7 separate regions of the Homo sapiens genome follow, and all the other regions are linked to region 1. The links are contacts of gene promoters, found by promoter capture Hi-C in blood cells and fetal thymus (Javierre and others, 2016). All regions are on one chromosome and are shown on one strand. The core of a region is centred on a gene start or on the middle of the fragment in contact, and the rest is flanking DNA. Distances in the headings are between cores, read along the strand shown. Region 1 holds the start of DUSP10 (dual specificity phosphatase 10). Region 2 overlaps MTARC1 (mitochondrial amidoxime reducing component 1). Region 3 overlaps MIA3 (MIA SH3 domain ER export factor 3). Region 4 has its middle 9.9 kb from the start of HLX-AS1. Region 5 overlaps TAF1A (TATA-box binding protein associated factor, RNA polymerase I subunit A). Region 6 has its middle 7.8 kb from the start of TRT-TGT2-1. Region 7 has its middle 48 kb from the start of TRT-TGT2-1.

Region 1 (2,545 bases), core at 19-2,518:
TGGCTCTTTTCCGCCAGCTGCGGCTGTTCCAGAAGCGCCGGGCTGCCGGTCCTGGCCTCGGCAGGGGCCGTGCGGGACCGAGGGGTGGCGGCCGAGGCATGTGGGGCGGGTGGGTTGCGCGCTGCTGGCACGGCGCGGGGACCCAGCGCGCCAGGCGGGAAAGGGGGGCGGCGGCGGGCGGGGACCCAGACCCGGAGGGGCAGCGGGCGCGTAGCGGGCCCCAGGACGCCCGGCCAGGGGATTGGCCTCTGCACCGCTGCTCAGGGCGCGTCCCTTGCCGCCTCTGGCGTCGACTCAAGCCTCCTCCTCCGAGCAGCCCTCAGTGGCGCCGCCTTAGTGCTCTGGGTCGAGCCCCGGGAGGGTTAGCCTGGGGACGGCAGGGGCGTGACCGTGGCGCGGAAGTAGGTGAGCAGCAGGGCGGCGCGCGGCGGTCAGGCCGGGACAGCCAGAGGGGCAGCGACATCTGCGGGCGGGCGGGCGGGAGGCGGACGCTTCCCGGGCGGAGCAGGGCCCTCCGGAGGACGCAGGCCGCGTCGAGGCTGAAGGGCCTCCCTGTCCGGGACGGTCAGCTGCCAAGTTCGGGCCCTTAGCGCGTGGCCCCGGGCCGCGGCTCGGAGCGGAAGCGTCGCCCCTGGCTGCGCGCTCATGCTGGTCCTAGCGCAGAAGACCCGGCGAGGTCCGCGAATTTTGGCTTAGCGTTTGTCAAGTCACCTCGAGCGACTCGGAGAGAACCCGGCTTTCCCACTAGGGACGGTGATCGCAGTCTCTTTCCTTTAGAAAGTTACTCCGATACTTTTGATCATCTGTCCATAGTAAGGAGGAAAAATAGCGTGGTTTGTCCCCGGGTGAGGGAGTGTTGGAGGATCCCGTCCAGTGGGAAGAGCCAGTTTTAGCGGAGCAGCGCGTCCAGCCCGCTGACACTTCAGCCTGGTAAAGGGTTAACTGCATCCTGCCGGTTCGGTTTACATGTAAATAGAGAGCAGCTGCTCCGCGCGGCCCCGGCTGGCTCTTTTAAGTTTTTGATTGGTTGCCAATGACATCACCGCCCGTGTTTTAACACCGAGGACCCAGAGCAGCTTCGGATAAACCCTCCTTAAAGAGATGAGGCCACGCCTTCTTACCCGCCCCCTAGGCTGCCCATTGGTCGCGGGGCTCTGTGAGGTAGCGGTCGGCTTTCTCCGGATTCTTATTGGCCCAACCCGCCGTCGGTCGGCGGCGAGTCCGCCCCCTCAGAACCTTACATTTACAGTGTAGCAAAAGAGAAAGTAACTATGTTGCTGCTGGAGATCAATGAAGCCGAGTGAATGGGGGCTGAATGTGCGAGTCCATAGCTGAAGAGGAGCGCCAGATGGTGGAGGAATACACTTATTTATGAAGTAAGTGGAAGTCACCGCGACTACTCCTGAGAGCCCGGGACTGGAGGTGGAGGATTGTAAGGCGGTGCTTGTGTGAGTGTGAGTGTGTGTGTTTGTGTGTGTGTATCTGTGTGTGTGTGAGAGAGAGACAGAGACAGAAAGATAGAGATGCGATGCTGACGGAGGAGCTACAGCAGGTAGGGTTATAAGGTTCCGGCCGTTGGCTCCTGCTACCCTGTGCGTTTACTCCCTGCAGTCTACTTGGATTTGGGGCGAAGAAAAAATGAGGTTTGTTGGGATGCTTTGCGGCAGTTTTAAATGCTCGGGGCTCATTAGTGCGCTGTGTGCCGAGGAGTGAAGCGGGGGGCGGGGGGATGTTAAGTGCTCCAGGAATGGGGAAGAAGCATTCTCTAACCACTTAATTTTCTCTCCAGCTCTTGCCTAGTGGTGGAAGGGAGAGGGGATAGCTCAGTATTTCTCTGGGAGATTTTCTGGGCCAGACTGGATGGTTTCACGGGCAGTATGTACGCCCGACCCTCTGCTGCAGGGATGCAGGTCTCTCTATACACTCCGTGTGTGTGTGTGTGAGCCTTGAACTCTGTGTGGAGGTGGGGGTCCCAGCGCGTGTCTCTGTGAACACGCTTATGCGTCCCTCTCAGAAGAAATGGTATGTTGATCCTGGACGTGTCCTACCAGGTAACACAATAGCAAAGACTTTCACCGCTTGGTCCAACCGGGAAACAGTTATAGCTTCTGGAATAGAACTCGCTCTTCAGAAAAAATACTACGCAAGGGAAGGGGGGTTGACTCCTTCGCTCCCATCCAAAGGTGGGTGAGAGAAACCCGAGTCGTTGGAGATCTGCCGACGTGATGGGTGCGTGCCCCGTGTGCGCGCGTGAGTGTGGATTCCGCCTGTGACACTTTGGTTCTGTGTCAGAGAATGGTGACGGTCGTGTGTAGACGGATGAGAATGGTGACGGTCGTGTGTAGACGGATGATAGATGGCATTTTTCCTGATAGCTCTTAAAGTTCGTTTAGGTGAGCGTCTCTTGGCGTGGGGTTTGGCGTCTTTGCTATGTGCATGTCTAATAGAAGAAGAAGAGTTAGCAAGCCTGAGTTGTAGAGTGCCCCTGTGCCTACAGGAGGAAGGAGCTGTCTTTTTGCAGACACTCTGAAATCAGAGATAGATC
Region 2 (2,545 bases), core at 20-2,519, 950 kb after region 1:
CCCAAATTTTCAACAATGAATATGTACCACTTTTCTAATCTGAAAAGCCACCAAATTCAAAAAAGTATATTATCAAGTTTAAAACTCTAAAATGTAGAAATTACATCAGTATTGCATTTTGTGAACTTTTCTGGGTCTTTAGACGTTGTTCAGATAACTACATTTTTTGAGGTGATGCTATTTTTTTATGATAGGCTATAAACTACATTCACACTGCATCTTTATTCCAAATGCAGAAACTATAACAAGAATATAACTGGACCAACTCTAATTTTCCCATAATCAGATAAGAAATCAACTCTAGACATGACTTCTTGGAGGCAAAACTAGTTTTCCTAGAAGAATTGCTTCATTGCAGCCCTTCTGATGTTGAGGGAAGGGCTTGTGTACAGAACATCCTCCTGGGTTACATCCCCAGCCTCATTCTGACACTGACCCCTGGGCAGCCGCTGGCTGGATCACTCTTCTAGCTAGAGTTGTTCTTTTCTATTTTGGAACTTCCTTTCATTAGAACTAAATCTTACGGGTCACATAGCCATTTGCAACTCCTTTCCTAACTCAGACTTGGAAGGTGCCCAGTTTTTCTAAGCCAAGAAGAAAAAGTTCTATGAGAATACGTAGATCGAGTTTCACCTCTGCTAGGACACTCGCCCCCACCACTCCCACCCCATTTTTGTGCTTGATCTTTGGGTGCTGTTATTTTTCTCTTGCTGACATGTCAATATGCTTTTGTTCTCATGGGTTTCTACATAGCACTTTCATGTCTGTCATCTCCACAACACAAGTTTCTGAAGCTGCTTCCTTCTTTCTCCTTCTTTTAGATCTTCATAATGTTGAGGACTTCATTCTGTATATGGTACACATGCAATCAACGGTTCATTATTGATATGTTTCTCAGCATTCCCTCTAGAGTTTATGCTTTCTCAAAATTGCATGACTATTCATTCACACAAGGGCTACGACCTGCCCTTTCCTTACCTGCACTTGTGCACTGCATTTGTGGTGGGCGTTTTGATAGGCAGTAGTAGGTCCTTTGTGTAGGCTGCACTGAGAGTCAGGGTGTCACCATCGCAGGTCAGGGAAATCAGGACCAGGCGAGGTTCCTGGCGAGCAGTAACCATGTTTCCCTCCTGGTTGATCACAAGCCAAAACCTGCCGTTTTCAAAACACAGGATATGTGTGAACCATTATGGCAGGAAGCCAGACCCTGGAGGAGCTTCAATTAGACACTGTTGTCATCTTTGATTTCTTCCCCATAAGCCTGGTGTGTGTGAGTTTGAGTGTGTGTGTCTGTCTGTCCTAAACATCAGCACACAGGACTGAGTCTGTCACTTAATTTCAAAGGATTTCATAACCACTCAAGCATCCAACATATATCTGGAGAACAGTTTGAGCTCTTTGATGGCACAGAAATCAAAGATGTTAATTATATTTTCATCTCAATCTCTAGAAAGCCTGATCACTTTCATTAAACATGCCCCAAGCAGATGACAAGAATCTATTTTACATGAAGACCTCAAAGGCAGGAGGAAGCACAGGGCCTGGCATCTGGTAGGCAACGGGCTCTTGTCAGTGGAAATAGCAGGACTGTTGCTTATATTGTTCACAGGGCATGGAGTTCAGCTGAGCAACACACAGTGCCACTTATACTCTGCCAGTTCCAGCCCCCCACCTTTTAAAAATTTTATGTTCCAACATTCAGTGCTGTCCATTCTGCAATTTGCTAAACTAGACAGTATTTTTTTCTTCTGGCCCAGTATTCCTGGTCTACAGGTACTTCCTAGAAAAAAAGATAAATGGAGAAATAAAGGTAATAGAAAGAGCCATTTCCAGAACAAGAACAACATGTTTTTGCAGGTTATCTCTCAGCTACCAAGGAAGCAAAACATATTGGCATTTCAATCCTTACAGTACACACTGATCAAATGATTACAATTATAGAAGTGAGCATGTGCTTTTGAGATTTCCAGACATAAGAAAAAAATATGGCCGGTACTTTAGGTCGTTCAAGATATTTCTTGCATCACTTCCAGCAGGTTATCATGGTTGAGTTGTTCAGCTACACTAGAAAAATATGCTTAGTATAAGCCCTTTCCGTAACTGCCCTTTTACCAGACTTTGTTTCTGCACAGACAGAGGCCTGCCCTGACCCAAATCCTTGGGACTAGCAGGTGAATATTCTGTCTAATATTCTTCCTGGTAATGGCAGTTTACATCGCTCTAAAATGCAAATCTAACTTTATGACCCCCTCATTCAAAATCCCTCCATGGTTCCTGCTTTCAGGATAAAACCAACTCCTAAACAAGGGCGTGCCCAGCCCTTCATGATCCAGCTGTTGCTCCAGCCATTCTTACCTCCCGAGGTCTTCACACAGGCCAGTCTTTTATATATTTATTTTTTAATTGCAGTAAAATATATATAAAACATAAAATACCTAGCACACTCCTACGTATAGACCCCAAAGAACTGAAAACAGGAACTCAAACAGACATTTGTGTATCAATGTTTATTGCAGCTTTAATCAAAATGCTGAAAAAGTAGTAA
Region 3 (2,545 bases), core at 17-2,516, 900 kb before region 1:
CTATATAACTTTCTGAAAAACGAAAAAGGCGTTAGAATTTTTTTATTAACAAATAGGAGAAACAAGAGTGGGAAATGTAAAATGTTTTCAACTTTTCCCCTTCCATTTACCCTTTGATTCTCCCTTTTTATCTGAAGAAAAGCACCAGGAGGTTAGAGAAGGCCTCACAGGAAAAAAGACCCTTCTTTTTAAGTAATTTTACAATCAATTGTGAGAGAAAATTTATTAATGATGATATATGTGATATAATTATGAAATCAGAAAAAGAGTACTCAGTTTTAGAAAGATTTGCATCCAATAATTTTGGCCATTTTAACTGTGAAGTTTCAATACAAAGCTTTTCATCTGCAAAGCTCATTTACACAAATAATCTTCTCCCAATTATGTTAAATAACTATGCAGCTGAATGCTATATAGTATAATCATAAGGATGTACAAGTATGAGTATACACACTTATACAAACATGTTTAAGTCTGAAAGGCAAATTCTGCACAGAAGATAAAAAAATTAACGGTGTGTCTTTACACATGATATAATTTGCATTTCGAAATAAAAAGATATTTTCTGAGTAAAATAGTACATGATGAAATCAGAAAATCTGGAAAATACACATTTTTTAAAAACTGAAAACTTACCTCATCTCCTAGATATAAGAATTTTTATCATTTTATTGTATTTCCTTGCAGCATTTATTTTCTGTGTGTATGTTTATGTAATATACAGTTTATCTATACCTTAAAGTCTTGGTTTCTACTTTTTTTCTACTTCATGTTAAATTGTGAGTATTTGTTGTGCTCCTATGTCTTTGAATTATATAAAGCAGCCTAATATCCCATTATATGAACATACAATAATTTAACAATTTTCCCACTGTGAATCACAGTAGGTTGTGTCAAAGTTTTCACTCTAATAAATACTGTTCTACTGAATGCTCTCATGTAAGATATTTAAAACTTTTTTTTGAGACAGAGTCTCACTTTGTCGCCTAGGCTGGAGTGCAGTGGCATGATCTGCTTCCCCAGTTCAAGCGATTCTCCTGCCTCAGCCTCCCAAGTAGCTGGGATTACAGGCTCCTGCCACCACCCCCGGCTAAGTTTTGTATTTTTAGTAGAGATGGGGTTTTGTCTTGTTGGTCAGGCTGGTCTCAAACTCCTGGCCTTATGTGATCCACCCGCCTCCGCCTCCCAAAGTGCTGGTATTACAGGTGTGAGCCACCACGCCCGGCCATGTAAGATATTTAATGCATGATTGGTTATTTCTTTCTTTCTTTTTTTTTTTTTTTGAGATGGAGTCTCACTCTGTCACCCAGGCTGGAGTGCAGTGGCACATCTCAGCTCACTGCAGCCTCCGCCTCCCAGGTTCAAGCGATTCTCTGCCTCAGCATCCCGAGTAGCTGGGATTACAGGCATGTGCCACAACACCTGGCTAATTTTCGTATTTTTAGAAGAGATGGGGTTTCATCATGTTGGCTAAGCTGGTCTCGAACTCCTGGCCTCAAGTGATCCGCCTGCCTCGGACTCTCAAAGTGCTGGGATTACAGGTGTGAGCCACTGTGCCGGCTGACTGGTTATTTCTTTAGGATCGATTACTAGACATGACATTAATACAATATAAAAGGATATAACCATTTTTAAGGCTTATCATACACATCATGAAACTATTTTTCAGGATGGCTCTAAGAATTCCTAGTTCTACTAACAGTGTACATATGACCTATCTAATTCTTTCTTTTCATCCTTTGTGAGTTGAAATACAGACCCACCTAATTCTTAAAATTTAGACTTTGATATGAGACATATAAACTGAAGTTTTCCCACTGAGATTATACATGTTGTCTTATTCACTTAAGAATTTACCAACACAAAAATTATACTAAATTATTTTACAAGGTTAGCTTGAATTAAAAGCATTAATTTCTGTTCATATTAGAAACTGAAAAAGAAACAAAAGGACTGTGATTATAAAACCATACTTGAATTTATGAGTTAAAGTATGCATTAATTTACTCACAACAAGGACAGTTCTCCATAAGAAAATGGCAAACGAAGCAATTCCCAAGAAGGCAGTGATAAATACAGGTTTCCATGGCAGTCCATAAAAATCAGGCCCAGGCTGAACATCATCAGGCAATGTAGCAACTAGCTGAATGTTAGAAATAATGTTAGAAATAATGAGAAACCTTAAAGAAGCTTACCATAAAGCAGTCACAAAGACTCATTCACAGAAATTCTAAACCAACTCTATCAGATACCTATCCCCTCAAAAATCTTCAGTAGCTCTCACTGCTTTAAGAAAAACAGGATACTGGGAGTCTCATACTTATTGTTTGGCCTGTGGTGTTTTGAAGTACTATGACTCTAAATGTCTTTAGGTTGGGCATATATTTCTAGTTTCAATAGGCCCTGATACAATATGTTATCTAAAACATGGCTGGAATCTCTCTGCATCATACTTTTGTCTTGAATAAATTGGTTTTTATTGCTTAAAAAACCACATAAGACAAAAAACCTTTTATATACAAGTAACTAACTTTTTATGGCTGCA
Region 4 (2,545 bases), core at 19-2,518, 850 kb after region 1:
CAGATGATTCGCAGCTCCAGGTCCACTCCCGGGGTTACTACCTGGTACTTCTGGGTCGTGTTGCACAGCCTCCTACTGTGTTTATAATGCTACCTACCCTGCGATGCTATAAATAACCACAAGGGCCACAATAATTATACTTGTCGTTCATTCAGTAAACACTTTTGGGGGTGCATTTCCTGTGCCAAGCACTGAGCTAGGTGCTAGAGCTTCTCCAACCATGCAGCAGAGTCCAGCCCTGCTCTCAAGAAGCCGAGGGTGCCTTTTTCCTCGAAGGAATCGTTAATCTCCTGTTTCCGTTTCGAGGGCCCTCCCTCATTGTGATTAGTTAAAAACTTAATAAAACTCCCCAAGTGCTATTTGTCCCAACATAATCTCAACAGCTGGAACATAATTTTCCCTTCTGTGCCCCTGGACACTTGCTTAAGCTTCAGAAAACTAAGTATCAGAAAACTAACTTCTTCCTTTCTAACTCCCATGAGTAAGTCCCCACCACACCCACAAGCATTGTATGGCCTGCCTGCTGTGAAATTTGCAGACTGAGGTGCTCCTGTGCATAGTGCCAGGAGCATCAAGATGAAGAAGGCCTTCCAAATGCAGCAACCCCTGACCTAGCCAGGCAGCACATCCTAACTCTCTGGGCTACTCCTTAAAGGATTTCCTGGTGACAAGGCATCCTCATTTTCATCTAATGATATAATTTCTTGGAGAGTAAAGGTTGTCTTGCATTCTTTTTTTCTCTATGGTGCAAACACTCACAAGGATCCCCATAAATACTGCAATGAAAAAAATGAATGGATGAAGGAATGCAGTAACATCGAAGCCTATAGCATTAATTGTATACCAGCCACTGTTCTCATTTTGGCTTTTTTTTTTTAACTGTCATGAAGTCTTACACCAATTTATGAGTTACATACCTTTGATTATATCCCATTTCACCGAGAAAACAAACCAAGTGATTAGATGAATTTTCCAAGGTCATGTAGCTAGTTATTGGTGGGTGAGGGAATGAATGAATGAATGCCTCTGGGGTTAGTTCAGACCTCCTATGCTGGGCTGGGATCAGGCCCGCTTTTTCCTGCACACTCCTCCTGCCGGTCTCCTCGAATAACCCCCCCAACCCAGAGAGTCGTTGAGGGTCTCCAGAGAGGCAAGTTCGGAGCGCATGTCAGGCGATGCTGCCGCTGCCACTTCCAAGGTCTCTTTCTGGTTCCTCGTGTGTTGCGCAGGGTGGACTGTGCTAGAGGTGAGGCTTACTATCTGCCATGGCTTCAGCTGAATCTGAGGCTAGAGGAAGAAACAAGGATCCAGCGCAGGGGCTGCCACGCAGGCATGATTGGGCCTCGATCTCCACATTCTGCCCAGAATCCTAAGTGTCAGCAATGATCAATGGAAGTCAAAAAGCACCATGGATGTCGCTTCCTTTCGTGAGCACAGTGTGGCTGGGATCCTACACACTATTAGCAAAGCTAACATTGCTATTAGGTCAGTGCAGGGTGGAGAGCAGGGTATCAACCCAATGGAGTCCCAGACCTGCGACTCCCAGACCCCTCAGGAACCACCAAGGGGAAAGAGAAGGAGCTAATGGGAGCCCAACATCCCAGGCAGTGGTTGAACCTCATGCTCTTTTTGAAAACCTATTGAGCTTTGATAATTTGGATCAGAATCTGGTTGCTCAGGAGTGTCTGGCACCAGCTTTCATGTTCCTGTGTACTGCAGGAGGCCCTGACACAAGGCCCATCCTGGTCCTTGCACTCACTCTCCAGGGCACCTTGGGCAAGTATTCTCACATCTCTCAGCCTCTGTTACTTCAACCCAAAAACGAGGAAGTTGGGAACAATCATAACTGTGGAGACTTCTATTCCTGATTTCTAAAATGACAGGGGGCAGAGACAGGGAAGGGATTAAAGGGCCAGGGGTTCTCTAAGCTCACCTGTCCTCAGGGCCCAGGGATCCTCGTGGAGGCTGCTGCTCTGTTAGAACCTGAGTTGAAGGGAATCTTAGAAAGTGCTCCCCACCCTGTGTAAGCAGTCTGGATTCCCCAAGAGTGGCTGGCAGAGGGTAGGCACTGTGGGTTGTAATATCCCAGTGTGTGAAGGGAAGCTTCAGAGAAAGCCAACTAGTTTGTCTTTGGGACGCCAGCCAATCTCATCATGACCTCAAAAATGGAGGCTGTGAGCTAGATGAGTGCATGAGTTAAATCAAAATTTCGGATTTTAAAAAATCTTCCCTAGCCCAAATACCTGTAGTTAAAATCCTCCTTAAAACTCGCATCTTCACAAATACATTGGAGTGTGCAATCAGTCCTTTCCAACTCACAAGGCTAAAGAAGGAGAATGTGATGTCCCAGCATGTTTAGGGTCCTCTTGGTCATCTTTAAAGCGGTGTCACTACATCACGTGGGGGAGGGCTGAGCTTGCCTACTTTTTCTTCTTAAGGGAGGAAGAAGCCGGAGAGGGGACTAGGATGCCTGAAAACGATGGGAGACTGCATCAACCTCAGCCTCTGACTTCTCTTCCCCCGTTTCGTGCTCCATCCAGCCCAC
Region 5 (2,545 bases), core at 28-2,527, 840 kb before region 1:
TCTCAAAGACATTAAACTCTTAAGTGGTATCAGGAGTCAAATCCAGGTTTGTCTGATCTCAAAGCTTACACTTTTAACGACTGAGATGCATTTTTAAAAATGAGACAATATATGTAAAGTACCTAGCATAGTATCTCATGCATAATGAGTGTTGAAAAATAATAGTGCCTTTCCTCTCCTCATTTTATTTTTGCTAGATTAATGCACATGGCTTAAGGCAGATTTGAATGAATGATACTTCAGAGGTAGTGCTACCGCATCCCTGGTAGGGAACAAACTAGTAATTTAAATTTCCTATAGTTAAGTCATACTTGGGTATGTTTCTGTTACCAGTGTTCTATAGAAAGTCTGAGTCAGTCTGCAAGCAGATAGGTTTAAGACCAAAGACCAAAATTTACATGCTTAGGAATATTTTATATGTCATGGATAGCCTGTTAAACCGAAAATACTTTTGGTCTGCAATGAGAAAATACTTGCAATTAATATTGACATTGTGCTGGTAATTAACCATAATAGGAAAACAAAATTGCCTAACAATTGTTCTATTTATTTTTTATGCTGGTAGATATCTTTTGGCTTTTTGAAGGGCATGCCCAGCAACCCCCTTAGAATAAAAACTTTGAAGACAGGGCCAGTCTGGATTGAAGCTGTATGATGAGTACCTGCGATAGTGCTTGGGACACAGTGGTGCCCAAAAAATACTTGTTGACAGATTGATAAGTTTCCAGATTCTTTGAGTAGCATATTAGAAGTTAGGTTGATGACACTAGTTCTTTATTGTACATCTCTATTCCATGTAAAAATGTGTTTTCCTTGACAATTTTTTTTTCTTAAAGTCATCAGGATCAAGTAAGACTATCTTTTGCTCATTAAAGAATGAAATGAGAGGAGAACTTTTCCTGAGGTAGCTAGGCTAGGTTGGAAGACAAAAGTATTTTCCAAACATTTAGGTATAGTTATCTAAAGTCAATTTATAATCTCAGTTGTGAAAGCTTGAGCGATAGAAGGGAGCTTAGCCTGAGAACAGTTCTCTCCTTTAGGTAAATAAGGGATGTTTTAAGGACGAGGTGTTTTGTCAGTTTCCTAGGCTAGCTGGCAGGTATTGCCACTGATGCCGAGCAGCTTTGGTGTAGATCTTATAAAATGCAGCTTCTGATTGAGAGAGCTGGGCATAGTACTCTGTAGTTGTAATGAGATTCCAGGTGATACTTCTGCTGCATGCCAGGACCACATTGAGTAGCAAGGGCAGGTCCCCAGGTGATTTGTATGTACATTCAAAAGTCTGAGAACACTAGTCTAGCACAGTAGTCTTCAAACTTTTCACTTTTGTATCCCCTAGTTTTTTCTGAAAAATTGAGTACTACCTTGCATAGTTTTAAGGAATCATCTGAAAAAATTTTATTGTATGTTTAATATTTGCAAGAGATAAAATTTCCAGCATGTTGGTATTTTTAAATGACTATATATTACTTTATATGTGATGGAGTCCAAATAGCACAGGAATGGCATAGGGTTTTAATACCTTGCGTTATTCATTTTAAAAAAAATTATGAACAAGCTTTTAATAGATGGACATTTTATGTTCCTCTTTGTTGTACTTCTTGCAATAAAAGTATGTATCAATATTTATACTTTTTTTGTTTATATCCTGTAAGTTTTAAGAATTAAAACTTTTTCTAGGTTGAGACATTGCTATCATTAATAGTTGTACACAGCTGATCAATATAACGTGTATTAAACGTGTTGTTGGCCAGGTGTGGTGGCTCATGCTCATAATCCCAGCACTTTGGGAGGCCAAAAGGAAGGATCACTTGAACCCAGGAGGTCTAGGCTATGGTGAGCTGTGATTGTGCTAGTGCGGTCCAGCCTGGGTGACAGAGCAAGACTCTTTTTTTTTTTTTTTTAATAAAGTTATCTAAAACTTTTCCCCAATTTTTTATGTATTTGTGGGTGACTTTTATGTATTTCTAGAATGAGAAAACATTTAGCATTGATTCTGCTATTTTTTTTAATTGACATAAATTCTGAGAAACCTTAGTCACATAAGTAAGTAGATGGCAGTGAATGGAGTTTAATTATAGCCGTGTATCAGGTCTGTGAATTTTTTCTAAATTATTGATGAAAAATTGCATAATGATTTATTGTAAAAAATTACGTTGTTCTGCAGTTTTGATGAGCAAAGAATTGGGAATTGCCTAACTTGCAAAAGGAGATGTTAGAGTTATTTACTTTTTCAACACCTGTGTTTTCACCTTCAGATAGTGTGTAATGATTTTGATTGTGAAGCTTTGACTATGTAGGCACAGCTGTCTAGGAGATTAACTTGTGGAAAGAGTATGTAAGGAAATCAAATATCTGCAAGTTAATTGTTTTAAAAGTATCTTTGTAAAGTACCTGTTGGTCTTTGTGTACTTACTGGGGTACAATTACCCAGCTGGACTAGAGGGGTCTCATAGTTACGTGGGAAGATAAGAAGATGTAGCAATGTAACTAGTCATTCATATAATAGCACTGTATCTAAGCCCAAATGTTCTTAACATTGGGA
Region 6 (2,545 bases), core at 13-2,512, 720 kb before region 1:
TGGTTGCTCTCACAGGGTGGCATTGACTGTGGCTTTTCCAGGCACATAGTGCAAGCTGTTGGTGGCTCTAACATTCTGGGGTCTGGAGGACGGTGGCTCTCTTTGTGCAGCTCCACTAAGCAGTACCCCAGTGGGGACTCTTTGTGGAGGCTCCAACTCAACATTTCTCCTTCATACTGCCCTAGTAGAGGTTCTCCATGAGGCTTCTGCCCCTGCTGCAGGCTTCTGCCTGGACATCCAGGCTTTTCTATATATCCTCTGAAATCTAGGTGGAGGCTCCCAAGCCTCAATCCTTGCACTCTGTGCACCTGCAGGCTTAATATCACATGGAAATTGCCAAGGCTTATGACTTGCACCCTCTGAAGCAGTGGCCTGTACTATATCCCTTTGAGCCATGCCTGAAGTTGGAGTGGCTGGGATGTGGAGAGCAGTGTCCTGAGGCTGCATAGGGCAGCAGAGTCCCCGGGCCTAACCCATAAAAGCATTCTTTCCTCCTAGGTCCCTGGGCCTATGATGGGAGGGGCTGCTGCAAAGGTCTCTGAAATGCCTTTGAGGCCTTTTCTCCATTGCCTTGGCTATTAGCACTTGGATCCTTTATATTTATGCAAATTTCTGCAGCCTGCTTAAATTCCTCCCTGAAAACGGGCTTTTCTTTTCTACCACACAGCCAAGCTGCAAATTTTCCAAACTTTTATGCTCTGTTTCCCATTTAAATATCAGTTCCAACTTCAGGTCATTTCTTTGCTCATACATATGAGCATAGGCTGTTAGAAGCAGCCAGGTCACATCTTGAACACTTTACTGCTTAGAAATTTCTTCTGCCAGATATCCTAAATTACCACTCTCAAGTTCAAAGTCCCACAGATCTCTAGAGCAGGGGCATAATGCAGCTAAGCTGTCTGATAAGGCATAGCAAAGGTTACCTTTACTCATTCCCAATAAGTTCCTCATTTCCATCTGAGACATCTTCAGGCTGGACTTCACTGTCCACGTCACTGTCAGCATTTTAATCACAACCATTAAACAACTCTCTAGGATGTTCCAAACCTTCCCTCAACTTCCTGTCTTCTAGCCCTCCACATTCTTCCAACCTCTGCCTATTTCCCAGTTTCAAAGTTGCTTTCACATTTTTGGGTATCTTTATAGCAATATCCTACTCCTGGTACCAATTTTCTGTATTAGGCTATTCTCATATTGCCACAAACAAACACCCAAGATTGGGTAATTTATAAAGAAAAGAGGTTTAATTGGCTCATGGTTCCACAGACTGTACAGGAAGCACAATGCTGGCATCTGCTTGGCTTCTGGGAAGACCTCAGGAAACTTACAATTATGGCAGAAGGCAAATGGGGAGCAGATATGTCTTCACGGTAGGAGCAGGAGCAAAAGAGAAAGAGAAGGGAGGTGCCACATACTTTTAAACAACCAGATCTCATGAGAACTCAGTATCTTGAGGACAGTACCAAGGGGGAAATCTGCCCCCATGATCCAATCCCACCTCACACCAGGCCCCACCTCCAACATTGGGGATTACATGAGATTTGGGTGGGGACACAGATCCAAACCATGGCAAAAAGCTACCCAAGTGATTTTAATGTGCAGCCAGAGTTGAGTACCATTGCTCTGACAAAATTTTTTATCTTATATATGAACAAGAAGAGACTTCAAGAGCTTAAGTAACTGACCCCAAATAAAGGCCATACAGTCAATTACTGGCCAAGACTCTGGCCCGCTCTATTCCCCTATTGGAAAACCTCCACAGCAGTCACACTTTGGGTCAATTTCTTACAGAGGATAGCTACAGTCTTTATGTCTTTAAATCTAAATCTAGATATATTATTTGAATAGTGCTAGCATACTCTGGCAGAACTTTTGAGAGTGAGGACTGTTCCAGAACTATCTGTGCTATGTGACCTCAGGATCTGGAGGTGGTGACAGGCTCAGATTTTACAGTCAGGAAAGTCTGGTTTCAAATGGTAGTTCAGCCACTGACAGCTCTGCACCCTTGGCCAAGTTACTTGGCATCTCTGATCTTCAGTTTCCTTGTAATGTGAATGTTTTGTCAACACAGACTGGTTTCTTGGTTGTGAAGACTAAATAAGATAAGGCCATAAAAGTCTCAGCACGTAATTAGTGCCTTTTAGGAAGCCGATGACTTATCCATTAGCTGGTGGTGCAATTTTACCTTTTAAATGATAGCAGTACTAGTAATTATTACTGTTGTTGTTCTTCTTATATTCCATGTATTTGCCTTCCAGATAGGTGGTTCTTAAGCAGAGGTGATTTTGTACCCCCAGGAAACATTTGGCAATGTCTATAGGTATTTTGATTGTTATAACAGGGGTGGAGGTTTGGGGACAGTGGTGGGGTGCCAGTGACACCAGTGGGTAGAGGCCAAGGATACTACTAAATGCTCATAATGCGCAGGCAGCCTCCCAACAACAAAGACCTATCTGACCCGATGGTGCGAAGGTCAAGAGACTCTGCTGTAGATATCTGTAAGTAATTGGGAGCTTGAGGGCCCAGAGCCACTGGGTGGTGACAG
Region 7 (2,545 bases), core at 27-2,526, 670 kb before region 1:
TACATGATAATAATGATGATGATACATATTGCTACATCTTTTACTCCAGACCAAAGATGATAGAACATGGCATTATATTGCTCGCTGCTGCCCACACCACCTTAAAAACAATAATGTAAATGGCTGGAAAGAGCCCTGAGTTGGCAGTCAGCAGTATTCTGGTTCTCCTTGCCAAGTGTCTTCAACTATAACTATCTTTACCTATCCTTTGCACATTTCTCTACTTCACCTTGCTTTCCCCACCTGTAAAATTAGGATAATTTTGCCTAGACTTCATCCTCTATAACAGGATGGATGAACCATATTGCAGATGTGACGCACTTGAAGGAACTATTGGATAGACAAGATGATAACAAACATCTCTGGCTGCTTGGGCATGTGAGAGGGAATATTTGGGAGATATCATTAGTTGATATTTTATAATATTTTATGAAGTATTTTCAAATGGATTCTTCCTTTGTGTGTCCCAAACTATTATATGTGCCTGCCTTTTACACATCAGGAAATGGAGGCTCTTGCTCAGGTCCTATAACTGGTAAAACACAGAGTTGCATATAGCTTCTGACTCTGGAACACTTATCCTTATCCCTGCATGATGCTCCTCCTCTTATGTAAGGCCCAGGTTAAGTCTTGGACTTTATCCCAATTTAAGTATTCTGTGTTTTGGCCAACTGCGTGGGTGTTTCATTTCTGTGTTCTCTGTTTCACTACAGTATGGGAAAGTTTATCTTTCACTTTTGTTTTTGGGCGGGAGGAACAGCTCCCCAGTTGGGGTCTGAGCCCCTGCACTGGGCAGTAACACAAGACTCAAGAAGCTTCTCACATAGCATCATTATCAACGCCAGAGTACAGTCTTTAATGCTATCTCATGACCAATATCATAAAGGTAACTGCGATTCTACCATGCCTTAGGTGAGAGATGAGGAGTAAACAGAGTGTTGGTTCATGGCACCCAAACCTTTGGGTTTACCCTCATCTTTCATTGTAATATTGTTTTATTAAGAATAAAATTGGAAACAATCTACATGTCCATCAAGAGGGATGGGTTAATATCTCATAGAATTGTTGAAGGGCTTGAAGACTAAATACATATAAGGTCTTAGAATAATGCCTAGCACATGTTAAATGCTCAATCCATGTTAGCTATTATTTTTAGAGTTATGAATAAAGAGGAATGACTATATTTGAACTCTGCCAGAACCACATGTCTATACACAGAATAAACTCAGGGCTTTATTTCCAGGTCTGCCTTCACTTGAGCCTAAAGTGATAGGTGATGACAGGACTCAGGCTCAATGATTCTGCCTGTCTCTTTCCCCTTCATGACTACAGATGGCAACCACTTTGTCTTTTAGTAAGGTAGAAGATGTTGTGAAGGTCAGGTAAATGGCATTTCCAAACTGTTTATTTCAGATTGAGGACAAACTAAGTATGACATAATAAAAATTTTATCTGGCCTTGTCTCTTGTCCCTAGTTCTTGGCACAGAGATTCAGAAACCTTCAGAATTTCCTGAGTGATAGGCATATCCTTTCTGTGCTAGATAGCTTCAAGGTGGAGACTAGTCACCAGAAAAACCCAGCATGTGGTTAGGGGGTTGGAGCTTTGGAACAGCTTGACTCTGAGGAAGAGAAGGGGCTGAAGATTGAGTTCAATCATGTGGCCAATGATTTAGTCAATCATACCTTTGTAATCAAACCCCAGTGAAAACTATGGCCACTAATGCTATGAAGCTTCCTGGTTGATGAATGCATTGATGGGCCAAGGGTGATGTGCTCTGATTCCACAGGAAGAGGACATGGAATTCCTGCACTCTTCCCCAGACCTTACCCTATCTGAATCCTTTGTAATAAAACTGTAATGATAAGCATAGCACTTTCCTGAGTTCTGTGAGTCATTCTAGCAAATTATCAAATGTGAAAAGATCATGGGAAGCCTTGAATTTGTGGCCAGCTCATCAGAAGTGTGGGTGGCCTGGGGATTCCCAGAATTTGTGGCTGCCGTATGAAGTAAGGGCAATCTTGTGGAGGACTGAGGCTTTACACCTGTGGAGTCTGATGCTAACTCTGAGTGATTAGTCTCAGAATTGAATTATATTGTAGTATACCCAGTTAGGGTGGAAAGAGAGTACGCAGTCACCTGGTTTAACCAATCATTAGCAAAATCTCATATTCTCTCTTCCATCATCTGAAAAGCCTCATTTCACTACCATTGTTATCTAGGACAGAGTAACCCAAACCAGAGGCTGGAAATATCTGGCTGTTACCATGCACCCTATTGCCCTCACTTGTTCTCATCCTATGCCCTTTGATGCTTGTGAAAAATTATGAGCAAAAATGATGGCAAAACCACTTAAATGCCATCATTTTTTCATTTGTACTCAGGAATTCTGCTCACGCATCACATGCAGTCTTTCTTGGTGTACAAATTGCGGTAATTGGTTTTCCTCATTTTCTTTCTTCCCACTGACTTTCCTCGACTAGGGACCACCAAGGACACATCCTTTCTGAATAACAATTTCACTTCCAAGACCGCCCAATCTGTCA

Evidence for each region. Contacts are between HindIII fragments. The CHiCAGO score rates a contact against its expected background, and 5 or more counts as called.
Region 2: a contact is called between a fragment that was not itself captured here and the fragment with the promoter of DUSP10 in region 1, in 1 of 17 cell types (neutrophils). The highest score is 8.8, in neutrophils.
Region 3: a contact is called between a fragment that was not itself captured here and the fragment with the promoter of DUSP10 in region 1, in 1 of 17 cell types (naive CD4 T cells). The highest score is 5.2, in naive CD4 T cells.
Region 4: a fragment that was not itself captured here is called in contact with the fragment with the promoter of DUSP10 in region 1 in 1 of 17 cell types (neutrophils); the score reaches 6.9 in neutrophils.
Region 5: a fragment that was not itself captured here is called in contact with the fragment with the promoter of DUSP10 in region 1 in 1 of 17 cell types (naive CD4 T cells); the score reaches 5.1 in naive CD4 T cells.
Region 6: a fragment that was not itself captured here is called in contact with the fragment with the promoter of DUSP10 in region 1 in 13 of 17 cell types (naive CD4 T cells, naive CD8 T cells, megakaryocytes and 10 more); the score reaches 13.7 in naive CD4 T cells.
Region 7: a fragment that was not itself captured here is called in contact with the fragment with the promoter of DUSP10 in region 1 in 4 of 17 cell types (total CD4 T cells, naive CD4 T cells, non-activated CD4 T cells and 1 more); the score reaches 8.2 in total CD4 T cells.

What each region holds. Positions count from the first base shown.
Region 1 is chr1:221,740,812-221,743,356 of GRCh38, reverse strand. It overlaps DUSP10 (dual specificity phosphatase 10), which reads left to right and starts at 1,268. Exons shown (of 4, transcript NM_007207.6): 1 at 1,268-1,376. RefSeq lists silencers at 32-511, 2,232-2,281 and enhancers at 285-922, 732-931, 1,262-1,451, 923-1,560, 1,561-2,198. The HindIII fragment of the contact is 7,400 bases long and covers 1-2,545 here.
Region 2 is chr1:220,790,098-220,792,642 of GRCh38, reverse strand. MTARC1 (mitochondrial amidoxime reducing component 1) reads right to left here. Exons shown (of 7, transcript NM_022746.4): 2 at 979-1,152. Among named protein-coding and RNA genes, the nearest start is that of MTARC1, 4.5 kb to the right of the region's middle. The HindIII fragment of the contact is 3,670 bases long and covers 1-2,545 here.
Region 3 is chr1:222,645,152-222,647,696 of GRCh38, reverse strand. It overlaps MIA3 (MIA SH3 domain ER export factor 3), which reads right to left. Exons shown (of 28, transcript NM_198551.4): 7 at 2,012-2,143. Among named protein-coding and RNA genes, the nearest start is that of MIA3, 28 kb to the right of the region's middle. The HindIII fragment of the contact is 1,853 bases long and covers 340-2,192 here.
Region 4 is chr1:220,888,756-220,891,300 of GRCh38, reverse strand. No RefSeq gene overlaps it. Among named protein-coding and RNA genes, the nearest start is that of HLX-AS1, 9.9 kb to the right of the region's middle. The HindIII fragment of the contact is 1,675 bases long and covers 431-2,105 here.
Region 5 is chr1:222,584,815-222,587,359 of GRCh38, reverse strand. All of the region lies in intron 2 of TAF1A (TATA-box binding protein associated factor, RNA polymerase I subunit A), which reads left to right. Among named protein-coding and RNA genes, the nearest start is that of TAF1A-AS1, 3.8 kb to the left of the region's middle. The HindIII fragment of the contact is 566 bases long and covers 995-1,560 here.
Region 6 is chr1:222,455,908-222,458,452 of GRCh38, reverse strand. No RefSeq gene overlaps it. Among named protein-coding and RNA genes, the nearest start is that of TRT-TGT2-1, 7.8 kb to the left of the region's middle. The HindIII fragment of the contact is 5,503 bases long and covers 1-2,545 here.
Region 7 is chr1:222,415,639-222,418,183 of GRCh38, reverse strand. No RefSeq gene overlaps it. Among named protein-coding and RNA genes, the nearest start is that of TRT-TGT2-1, 48 kb to the left of the region's middle. The HindIII fragment of the contact is 917 bases long and covers 818-1,734 here.